Linked DNA regions of Homo sapiens: region 2 is linked to region 1. The links are contacts of gene promoters, found by promoter capture Hi-C in human tissues and cell types (Jung and others, 2019). All regions are on one chromosome and are shown on one strand. Each heading gives the region's core, a stretch centred on a gene start or on the middle of the fragment in contact. The rest is flanking DNA. Distances are from core to core; before and after follow the strand shown. Region 1 holds the start of ZNF675 (zinc finger protein 675). Region 2 overlaps ZNF91 (zinc finger protein 91).

Region 1 (6,619 bases), core at 413-2,912:
TCACCTAAATAGGAATATGTTACAACCTTCTCCTGACAGCAGGACACAGGCAGCAGAGTCACATCACCTGGGTGCTGAGCCCAGCAATAGGTAACAATGCTTTCTGTGGCTCAAGGCCCAGGCAGGAGAGACACATCACCTGCTACCTAGGCTTAATGATAAGTCACAATTTTTCCTGTGGGCAGAGTGCAGGGAAAAATGGACAGTTGCATCTCTTAGGTGATTGATGCAGAGATATGTCACAAGGCCCTCTGTAAAAAAGGCTCAGGCAAGGGCCTCCCATTTTATATATGTTGGGCCTAGTAATATGTTCTATTGTGCAAAATATTCTGGGCCTGGGTAAAAGAAGAGAGCCACATAACCTGAATGCAGAACTTAGCAATATGTCATGATGCACCCTGTGGGTAGCGCCAATGCAAGAAAAAAGACTCACATTACCTTTATTCTTGACTTAAAGTCTTATGTCTTGTAAGAGAATATTGAATAATGCAAAAATACATGTAGACATGTCTGCGTGTGATTGGTGCTTATACTCACACAGTTCACCACACCACAGGAGAAAACAGATAACCACAGGCTGACCGTTAGGGCCAAGGCCAAATAGCAAAATAAGTTTGCCTTTAATCTATTTTCTCCATATCTAAACATTGGAGGTTAAGACTGTGGACAGATCTGAAGATACAGAGTTTTCTTGTTTTGTGGCTTCATCATTCTTTGTTCACTGTCTGATGTTTGGAATTAAGGTGAGCAACAGGTGGGCAGCAGTAGTTAATAAAATAACCAGAGGTAACCACAGGTCGACCTGTGGTTATTTTATTCTATCTGTCCTCTGTTCTTTCTATGGTCACTAACTGTTTTTTCCTTGGAATTGAAGAGAGATGTTGGTAGAGAGAGGCTGTCCCCTCACCTCTGGCAAAAAAGGGATGTTCAGGCTCTTCTTCACCCCCCTGACATCAGAGCTGCATTTTAATGTGGCAGCTATTGGCCACGTGTGGCTACTGGGTGCCTGGAATGTGGCTGGTCTGAATTGCAATGTGTTAGGTAAAATAGAGTTATTTTCAAAGATTTAGTTCCATATATGTGTGTGTGTGTGTGTGTGTGTGTGTGTGTGTGTATACACATATATACATATATATGTGTATTTCATCAATAATTTCATATTGCTCTCATACTAAAATGATAGTACTTTGGATATATTGGGTTAGATTGTTACAATCAATTCCACTTGTTTTTTTCTTTTTAAAGTTTGACTACTAGAAAATTTAAAATTCACATGTGGCTCACATTTTATTTGAGGATTGCCTCTTTTTAAAATTCTCAGGCTGCCTACTCAAAGGACCAGAAGCCAGGAAGGTCATAAAGTCTGAAATTCTAAAATAATTATTATTATATTATTTTTCTTTGTGAGTAGCCATATATCATTTATAAATGTATATGACCTTATACACAAGGTTAAATACAAATACCCTATGGGATGGGCCTGGCTCAGCTAAAAGAGGAAGCCCCGGCTGAAAAGGCTGCAGCGCAGGCTATCAGTCTTCACTCAGCCCAGTGTCTGATCACATCTTCTGTCACTCAGGGCCTGAAGGGTCAGGACCTTAAACGTTGTCCAATCAGGCACGCTGGGCTGGGAACCGTCCAATCAGGCACGCAGCTGGAGCAGACAAGATGGCTTCCGGGATTTGGCGGCGCCTTTGTCTCTCGCTGCAGCCGGAGCTCCAGGTCTCGCTTTCATTGCTCTGTGTCCTCTGCTCCTAGAGGTCCAGCCTCTGTGGGCCTGTGACCTGCAGAAATTGAGAGATCCACAGCTAAGACTCCAGGACCCCCTGGAAGCCTAGAAATGGTGAGAGTTACGGGTGCGACATCCCGAGAGGGGGAAGGGGCTGGTTGGAACCCGTGGGAAATGGCTATGGCGGGACTCAGGCCTCCCCGCAGTCAGCTCCACAATCTGCACCCCGAGTTCTCCTTCCCCAGCTCGGCTCAGTCCCCTGCAGCCATAAGATGGCGGCGCGCTGACAGCCAGCCCCGGGGCATCCCGTCTCTTCTCTGCCTAGTGACTGTGCCCTGGCCTGTAGCCCTCTCTGGGCAGCTCTGTACCCGCAGCGCCGCATTTCTCTCAGATTGTGCAGGGACCACAGGAGGGCCGTCACCGGAGAATCCTGACTCAGGGTGCGGGTTCATTAATGGGAAGAGTTTTGGTCCGTGGGGTTCCCAGTTCCTGTTTTCTCCTATTAAAATTTTATGGGAGGGCCGGGCGCGGTGGCTCAGGTCAGTAATACCAGCACTTTGGGAGACCGAGGTGGGTGGATCACCTGAGGTCAGGAGTTCAAGACCAGCCTGACCAACATGGTGAAACCCCGTTTCTACTAAAAATACAAAATTAGCCGGGCGTGGTGGCACATGCCTGTAATCCCAGATACTCAGAAGGCTGAGGCAGGAGAACCGCTTGAACCCGGGAGGTGGCGGTTGCAGTGAGCCGAGATGACGCCATTGCACTCCAGCCTGGTTAACAAGACCGAAACTCCGTCTTAAAAAATATATAAATAAATAAGTTAAATAAATAAATAAATTATGGGGATCACCACAAAAATATTGGAGAATTTAATCAAAGAGTGATTCAAAAATTGTGGAGCATTCAGCTGTGGTTTGGAGCTTGTGACTTTATGAGAGCAGCTTGAAGGAAAGACTTTTAAAGGTACATGATGAAGAAAACCAAATTAAATAATTGGTTAGGTACAGTTCATAGTTACTTGACTTGTACAATTAAGGTGGACATTTCCTGGTTATGTAATCAGAGGTTAATTGGCAGTTTATGATTGGTTAAGCCTAAATTTTTGTTTCCCTCAATTCAGTAATTTGCAAAAAAATGCATTTGAGTTAGAGTTTTTAAAAAATAGGAACCCAGGGACTAGAGTAACCTCCGTCTAATTGCCTGCTACTTAGTTATTTTCACACTCCACAGGAGACTGATTTTCCCCTGCATTTTTCACAGTTCTCTCAAGCTGGGTCTCAAGCCTACCCCTCATCCCATTCCTCCAGACTAACTATGACTTGCAGTAAAATACTAAATTTCCAGTTTCTTCTCACATTCTCAAATGCCAGCTTCCCCTTTCTAATTCACATTATCAACTATTTGTCTTTTATTGTACACTTTAGATACTGTATTTTAACTAAGCATTTTTTGACATTGAATGGCACTTAAAAAAATCGTTTTCTGTTTGAAAATATTTTTTATGAGAAGAAAAAGAAGAACAATTCCCTGATACTGTATTGTAAAAAATCTTTTCGCCTCATTTTTAAAAATCTTCTCTAGGCACAGAGATAGTATCAGAATATTTTTGGGTCAAGGTTTCCCTTTGGAAACTTTATGGGTGATGTGGCCTCAGCCACCTTCAGTTTTTTCTGGTCCTGGGCTTCAGTAGTTTCTGTGAATAAACCAATATATCTACCATGGCTATGTCTGCTCGAGTGTCTAGTGAATATAATCTACTGGGTTATTTTCTTTCATAAAACAACCTGAGGTATGGAGTGTAGCCTCTCAATGGAAACAGATGAATGCCCTTGGACTGATAGGACTCTCCCCTGCGCTCTTCCTTTGAAAAACTAACCCTTGCGTGCACGGTGGTGCACACCTGTAATCCCAGCACTTTGGGAGTCTGAGGCGGTGGATCACCTGAGGTCAGGAGTTCGCGACCAGCCTGACTAACATGGTGAAACCCCATCTCTACTAAATACAAAAAAATTAGCTGGGCGTGGTGGTGGCTGCCTGTAATCCGAGCTATTTTGGAGGCTGAGAGCCGAGATCGCACCATTGGATTCCAGCCTGGGCACCAAGAGTGAAACTCCATCTCAAAAAAAGAAAAACTAAGCCTTTGAGACATGAAGATTGCCTTTACTCAACCCAGCTTCCATTTCTTGGAGACATATTGCTGGTCAGCCAATCAGATGCTGGTATTGAGGGAAAAACACAGAGATAATTTCTGTCCCCTGAATTGTCTAAGATTTGTGAAAGAAAAAATAGCATTTCAAAAGACAAAAAAAAGTGACCTCAGTGAAATGATGCAAAAACTTGCAAAGTAAAATGCACTTGGGGCAGTCACTGAGGCATAGTGCAGTGAGAGGGTGGTCATTGAGCACTTAAGTGAGCAGGATGGGGTGGGAGAATCTCTCAAGTGATTGGTGACCTGACTTGACACATGAATTAGACACACCTGTTTTCTTTTTTTTTTGAGATGGGGTTTCACTCTTGTTGCCCAGGCTGGAGTTCAATGGTGCCATCTCGGCTCATGGCAACCTCCGCCTCCCAGGTTCAAGCGATTCTCCTGCCTCAGCCTCCTGAGTAGCAGGGATTACAGGCATGCACCACCATGCCCAGCTAATTTTGTATTTTTAGTAGAAACGGGGTTTTCCCGTGTTGGCCAGGCTTGTCTCAAACTCCCGACCTCAGGTGATCCGCCCCTCTTGGCCTCCCAAAGTGCTGGAATTACAGGCATGAGCCACTGCCCTGGGCCAACACATCTGTTTTCTAATCAGCATTGCCACTCCCTAGTTTGTCACCTTGAAAAGATTAGTGCACTTATTTTGACTTTAGTTTTTTTTTTTTTTTTTTTTTGAGACGGAGTCTCGATTTGTTGCCCAGGCTGGAGTGCAGTGACATGATCTGGGGTCACTGCAAGCTCTGCCTCCCGGGTTCAAGCCATTCTCCTGCCTCAGCCTCCCGAGTAGCTGGGATTACAGGTGCCCGCCACCACGCCCAGCTAATTTTTTTGTATTTTTAGTAGAGACGGGGTTTCACCGTGTTAGCCAGGATGGTCTTGATCTCCTGACCTCGTGATCCGCCCTCCTCAGCCTCCCAAAGTGCTGGGATTACAGGCGTGAGCCACCACGCCCAGTCAGTGACTTTAGTTTTTTTAAATGTAAATTGCATTTTATTAGTAGCATTTGAAAGGGAAGAAAATATGTGCAAAGAGCATGTAAGAGTTGGGTTTCAGAAAAAAAAAATTTAATTATATATTCTATTTGTTAAAAGTTTTTATTTACCTTTTTCTTTCCCAGAGTGAGTTTAGAAAATTTGTCAGTTGTGTTTATGGCTGGGTAATTTCAAACAGAATTCCAAGGTTTAGCTGTTAGAATCCTACTAAGGAAAAGAATAAGGGCCAGGTGGGGTGGCTCACACCTATTATCCCAGCATTTTGAAAGACTGAGGTGGGCAGATCACGAGGTCACGAGTTCAGGACCAGTCTGGTCAATATGGTGAAACCTCATCTCTACTAAAAATACAAAAATCAGCCGGGCATGGTGGCACGTGCCTGTAGTCCCAGCTACTTGGGAGGCTGAGGCAGGAGAATCGCTTGAACCCAGGAGGTGGAGGTTGCAGTGAGCCGAGATCGCACCACTGCACTGCAGCCTGGGAGTCAGAGCGAGACAATCTCTCTTCCTTTTTGGCTGTAAAAATTAAATACCTTTCCACAAGAAAATGTAGTAGATAATTGGTGAGTTACATAGATTCATGAAAACATAGTTCCTCTTTTTGCACCATAAATTTGTGGCAGTGAATATCTGTTCTATATCCTATGATCTTGATTTCTGAATTTAATGCTAAGTGTTATGAGATGAAATTTGGTACCTCCTAGAAGTGTTCTCATATGACTAATTGTTTACTAGATAACTTTCTTTTTTTTTTTGAGACTGAGTCTCGCTCTGTTACCCAGGCTGGAGTGCAGTGCCATGATCTCAGCTCACTGCAACCTTCCGCCTCCCAGATTCAAGTGATTCTTCTGCCTCAGCCACCCGAGTAGCTGGGATTACAGATGCGCACCACCACGCCTGGCTAATTTTTGTATTTGTAGTAGAGATGGGGTTTCACCATGTTGGCCAGGCTAGGCTCGAACTCCTGACTTCAGGTGACCTGCTGGCCTTGGCCTCCCAAAGTGCTGGGATTACAGGTGTGAGCCACCGTGCCCGGCCTACTACATAACTTTTAAAATAAATAATAAAATAATACTTTAATTGTTTGAAAGGTGTAGATACTTTTGGTTTTCTTACAGAGGTATGAAATGGAAGCACCTTAAAATTTTCTTTTTATATACTAACACTGCGTTTCAGTAATTTTGCTGGATTTTTCAAACACATAGTTTCAGACACCAAGTGAATAACTCAGACATGAAAATTAAAGCTTGAGCCCATCTAAAGCTAATATTGAGCCTGCAAAAGGAGGTTATTAAAGGCCCAGTTAGTTCTTTCTGGGGAGCCTTTTCTGCAGATATGTCAGCCTGCTCACCCCAGCCATGGAAGAAGGCTTTATCCTGAGAGAAGCTTGAGAGCCCTGGGAAGCTGGGGATGCACAGGCAGGTGCAGTTAAGGTTAAAATGAAAAAGTGCTGTGAAGGTCTTACTGAAGATAAGTATTATTGTTTTGAGGCAGTTTCTAAATTTTGTAAAATTAAAGTTATAGATTTATGTAAAAAAAATTTTAATTCCAAAGGAGTATTGCAACAGGAGGAAGTACCAACTATTATTGCAAAGTTCAGGCAGACTTTTTTTCCACAGAGGGGAGAAAACAAGATTAGAAAGAAAATAGCAGAAGAATGGTGAATAGAGAGTGAAAAAGTCAGGTTTTA
Region 2 (5,795 bases), core at 2,174-4,673, 330 kb after region 1:
CACGCTCACTTTTTATTTTGGAAATTTTTTATTTTCATCTTCTTTTTAAAGTGAAATAAATTTAAATCAAGTATTCTTAGTTAGAATTTTTTTTCTTTTATTACATCAAAATTTGGGAATTTCTCACCTTTTTTTATTTTCAAGTAATCTCTGTATTATTTTTTCCCATATTCTTCTTCTAAGATTTTTTAATGAATATGTTAATCTAGTTGATGGTGCCTAATAAAGTTTACATTCCATGTTTTAATTTGGTTTTGCAATTGTATATTTTTGTGTTATATATTTTAGGGTATGCCACTACACATCTGTTAATTGTGCTTTGATATTTTAGTATAATAATTGTGCATGTCAATATTTAACTTTATGCAATTTAAGACAGTCTGGAGCAACATCAAATATGATTGAGCCATATGTCTTTTTCCAATAGAATTATCTCTATGTTTGTTTGCCTGTATAAATATTATCGTTGTATTTTTTATAACTTGTATATTTGTTGTGTGGGTTTGTTGTGAGTGATTTTCTAATCCTGTGTAGCTGAGTAGTCATAAAATTCTTATAATTTCAACATCCTATTTATTTCTGAATCTATATTTTTTTATGGGAGAAACACTTTTAAATGTGAATATAATTTAAAACTATCATAACTCTGTACTTTTAGTTATTATTATTTTTACTTGTCAAAAAAAAAACAAAATTTACCAGAAAATAAATATTTAATTTAGTCATATTAATCATCTTGAAATTTTCATGCAACATATTGCTAAAATGTTTTTACCTTGCAAGCTAAATCTTAATACATATTAAACAACTACCATTTTTTTTTTCTTGAGATGGAATTTTGCTCTTGTTGCCCAGGCTGGAGTGCAATGGCGCGATCTCGGCTCACCACAACCACTGCCTCCGGGTTCAAGTGATTCTCCTGCCTCAGTCTTTGAGTAGCTGGGATTACAGGCATGTGCCACCACGCACAGCTAATTTTGTATTTTTAGTAGAGAGGGGTTTTCTCCATGTTGGTCAGGCTGATCTCAAACTCCTGACCTCATAATCTGCCTTAGCCTCCCAAGTAGCTGGGATTACAGGCATGTGTCACCACACCTGGCTGATTTTTGTAGTTTTAGTAGAGACGGGGTTTCACCATGTTGGCCAGGCTGGCCTTGAACTCCTGACCTTAGGTGATCTGTCCTCCTTGGCCTCCCAAAGTGCCTAAAATACAGGTGTGAGCCACCATGCCTGGCCTGGCCTGGCACATCACTTTTATTTTGCAGCTTCAAAGATTTTTTTTTTGTCTGTGACTTTTGAAATTGTGCTTATATATGTGTTTGTTATAAATATCTTTCTGTGATCCTAGTTTGTTGAGCTTCTTTATTTTTACATCATTTTTTCTTACTTTTAGGATCTATCAGTTTTTATATTTTTACCTCCACAATTTCTGCTTTTTTGAAATCTTAAATATTTTTGTTCTCATCCTCATTTTTCCGATTTTCCATAGTTGTCTCTGTTCCTATTTTAATCAGTGAGTATTATTCATTACCAATTCATAAAATTAATGTATACATCTCTTTTATGGTTTCTTTCAGAAAATTTTATAATATTTTGGTGGCATCATATTGCCCTATTTTGTATACATTATAATCTTTGATTGAGATTTGGACATTTAAAAAAGCTAACTGTCAAAGTCTTTATAATGTAGTTTTGTCCTGGCATAGTTTGAAAACAACTGTCTTGTCTAATGATTATGGGAATTTCTCAAATATGTTCTTAGGATATGTGTTGTCTGAAATTTTGTGTTTATGTCTTAATTAAGAGTGTTTACTTATGTTACTTTGTAGGAGTCAGTAATCACTTGCTATGCCTGTTTCCTTTCTGTGGTACTGCAGTCTCTCTGCTGCTGTAACATTTTTCTTTGGTCTCAGCAGACTCAAACTTTCATTCCAAATTATGCCACGGTTTCTTTCAACACTTATGTCATGAGAGAGGGAAATCAGTGTCAGGAAAAGCCCCTAAAAGCTGTAAATAAAAATGAATGGGCTACTATTTTACCTTTCTTTTAAAACATAAACCAGGAGTTGGCAATTTACTTCTAAAGGCACTCTGTTATAATGGGAAGCAGGAAAAGCTGTGTCAAGTAAATTTAACAGACTTTTCTTTTTTTTCTGTGTGGTTTTTTGCATTGTGCTCCCCTGAGACACTGCACACACTTAACTCATTCATAAATTTTCCATAGATGTAATTTGATCTGTATGTTTTTGTTACATATATATGTCTATGAAAGAATTAGGGCCTGTGCAGGGTAATGGCGTGAACCCAGGAGGCAGGGCTTGCTGTGAGCCAAGATTGCACCACTGCACTCCAGCCTGGGTGACAGAGCGAGACTCCGTCTCAAAAACAAACAAACAAAAAAACAAAAATAGAATTAGGGCCTGTGGTATTTTGCAGTGCCATATTGTTTATGTAGTTTGTATAATTTTGTAGGTAAGATTTTTAAACTATATTCATGTGAGTCTAGGTGAGTGGAGTAATTTATTATTTTTAGTTTTTTTTTTTCAGGTATATGTCCTCATTTTCCTCAAGACTTTTGGCCAGAGCAGAGCATGGAAGATTCTTTTCAAAAAGTATTACTGAGAAAATATGAAAAATGTGGACATGAGAATTTACAGTTAAGAAAAGGTTGTAAAAGTGTGGATGAGTGTAAGGTGCACAAAGAAGGTTATAATAAACTTAACCAGTGTCTCACAACTGCCCAGAGCAAAGTATTTCAATGTGGGAAATATTTGAAAGTCTTCTATAAATTTTTAAATTCAAACAGACATACGATAAGACATACTGGAAAGAAATGCTTCAAATGTAAAAAATGTGTCAAGTCATTTTGCATCCGTTTACACAAAACCCAACATAAATGCGTTTATATTACAGAGAAGTCCTGTAAATGTAAAGAATGTGAAAAAACCTTTCATTGGTCCTCAACCCTTACTAATCATAAGGAAATTCATACTGAAGATAAACCCTACAAATGTGAAGAATGTGGCAAAGCTTTTAAGCAGCTCTCAACCCTTACTACACATAAAATAATCTGTGCTAAAGAGAAAATCTACAAGTGTGAAGAATGTGGCAAAGCATTTCTATGGTCCTCAACCCTAACTAGACATAAGAGGATACACACTGGAGAGAAACCCTACAAATGTGAAGAATGTGGCAAAGCTTTTAGCCATTCTTCAACCCTTGCTAAACATAAGAGAATTCATACTGGAGAGAAACCCTACAAATGTGAAGAATGTGGCAAAGCTTTTAGCCGTTCTTCAACCCTTGCTAAACATAAGAGAATTCATACTGGAGAGAAACCCTACAAATGTAAAGAATGTGGCAAAGCTTTTAGCAATTCCTCAACCCTTGCTAATCATAAGATAACTCATACTGAAGAGAAACCCTACAAATGTAAAGAATGTGACAAAGCTTTTAAGCGACTCTCAACCCTTACTAAACATAAAATAATACATGCTGGAGAGAAACTCTACAAATGTGAAGAATGTGGCAAAGCTTTTAATCGATCTTCAAATCTTACTATACATAAGTTTATTCATACTGGAGAGAAACCTTACAAGTGTGAAGAATGTGGCAAAGCATTTAACTGGTCCTCAAGCCTTACTAAACATAAAAGATTTCATACTAGAGAGAAACCCTTCAAATGTAAAGAATGTGGCAAAGCATTTATATGGTCTTCAACCCTAACTAGACATAAGAGGATACACACTGGAGAGAAGCCCTACAAATGTGAAGAATGTGGCAAAGCTTTTAGGCAATCCTCAACCCTTACTAAACATAAGATAATTCATACTGGAGAGAAACCCTACAAATTTGAAGAATGTGGCAAAGCTTTTAGACAATCCTTAACCCTTAATAAACATAAGATAATTCATAGTAGAGAGAAACCCTACAAATGTAAAGAATGTGGCAAAGCTTTTAAGCAATTCTCAACCCTTACTACACATAAAATAATTCATGCTGGAAAGAAACTCTACAAATGTGAAGAATGTGGCAAAGCTTTTAATCATTCCTCAAGTCTTTCTACACATAAGATAATTCATACTGGAGAGAAGTCTTACAAGTGTGAAGAATGTGGCAAAGCATTTCTATGGTCCTCAACCCTAAGAAGACATAAGAGGATACACACTGGAGAGAAACCCTACAAATGTGAAGAATGTGGCAAAGCTTTTAGCCATTCTTCAGCCCTTGCTAAACATAAGAGAATTCATACTGGAGAGAAACCCTACAAATGTAAAGAATGTGGCAAAGCTTTTAGCAATTCCTCAACCCTTGCTAATCATAAGATAACTCATACTGAAGAGAAACCCTACAAATGTAAAGAATGTGACAAAACTTTTAAGCGACTCTCAACCCTTACTAAACATAAAATAATACATGCTGGAGAGAAACTCTACAAATGTGAAGAATGTGGCAAAGCTTTTAATCGATCTTCAAATCTTACTATACATAAGTTTATTCATACTGGAGAGAAACCTTACAAGTGTGAAGAATGTGGCAAAGCATTTAACTGGTCCTCAAGCCTTACTAAACATAAAAGAATTCATACTAGAGAGAAACCCTTCAAATGTAAAGAATGTGGCAAAGCATTTATATGGTCTTCAACCCTAACTAGACATAAGAGGATACACACTGGAGAGAAGCCCTACAAATGTGAAGAATGTGGCAAAGCTTTTAGCCGTTCCTCAACCCTTACTAAGCATAAGACAATTCATACTGGAGAGAAACCCTACAAATGTAAAGAATGTGGCAAAGCTTTTAAGCACTCCTCAGCCCTTGCTAAACATAAAATAATACATGCTGGAGAGAAACTCTACAAATGTGAGGAATGTGGCAAAGCTTTTAATCAATCTTCAAATCTTACGACACATAAGATAATTCATACTAAAGAGAAACCTTCCAAGAGTGAAGAATGTGACAAAGCATTTATCTGGTCCTCAACCCTTACTGAACATAAGAGAATTCATACCAGAGAGAAAACCTACAAATGTGAAGAATGTGGCAAAGCATTTAGCCAGCCTTCACACCTTACTACACATAAGAGGATGCACACTGGAGAGAAACCCTACAAATGTGAAGAATGTGGCAAAGCTTTTAGCCAATCCTCAACCCTTACTACACATAAGATAATTCATACTGGAGAGAAACCCTACAAATGTGAAGAATGTGGCAAAGCTTTTAGGAAATCTTCAACTCTTACTGAACATAAGATAATTCATACTGGAGAGAAACCCTACAAATGTGAAGAATGTGGCAAAGCATTTAGCCAATCCTCAACCCTAACTAGACATACGAGGATGCACACTGGAGAGAAACCATACAAATGTGAAGAATGTGGCAAAGCTTTTAATCGATCCTCAAAGCTTACTACACATAAGATAATTCATACTGGAGAGAAACCTTACAAGTGTGAAGAATGTGGCAAAGCATTTATATCATCCTCAACCCTAAATGGACATAAGAGAATTCATACTAGAGAGAAACCCTACAAATGTGAAGAATGTGGCAAAGCATTTAGCCAATCTTCAACCCTAACTAGACATAAGAGGTTGCACACCGGAGAGAAACCCTACAAATGTGGAGAATGTGGCAAAGCCTTTAAAGAGTCCTCAGCTCTTACTAAACATAAGATAATTCACACTGGAGAGAAACCCTACAAATGTGAAAAATGTGGCAAAGCCTTTAACCAGTCTTCAATCCTTACTAACCATAAGAAAATTCATACTATCACACCTGTAATCCCACTACTTTGGGAG

The links. The method cuts DNA at HindIII sites, captures the fragments that hold promoters and counts their contacts. A contact is called where the count stands out against the background at its distance.
Region 2: a fragment that was not itself captured here is called in contact with the fragment with the promoter of ZNF675 in region 1 in 1 of the 25 tissues and cell types used here (small bowel).

What each region holds. Positions count from the first base shown.
Region 1 is chr19:23,682,255-23,688,873 of GRCh38, reverse strand. It overlaps ZNF675 (zinc finger protein 675), which reads left to right and starts at 1,662. Exons shown (of 4, transcript NM_138330.3): 1 at 1,662-1,843. The coding sequence starts at 1,841. RefSeq lists enhancers at 1,395-1,444, 1,735-2,124, 2,256-3,226. The HindIII fragment of the contact is 16,679 bases long and covers 1-6,619 here.
Region 2 is chr19:23,359,478-23,365,272 of GRCh38, reverse strand. ZNF91 (zinc finger protein 91) reads left to right here. Exons shown (of 4, transcript NM_003430.4): 4 at 2,548-5,795. Among named protein-coding and RNA genes, the nearest start is that of ZNF91, 33 kb to the left of the region's middle. The HindIII fragment of the contact is 5,150 bases long and covers 849-5,795 here.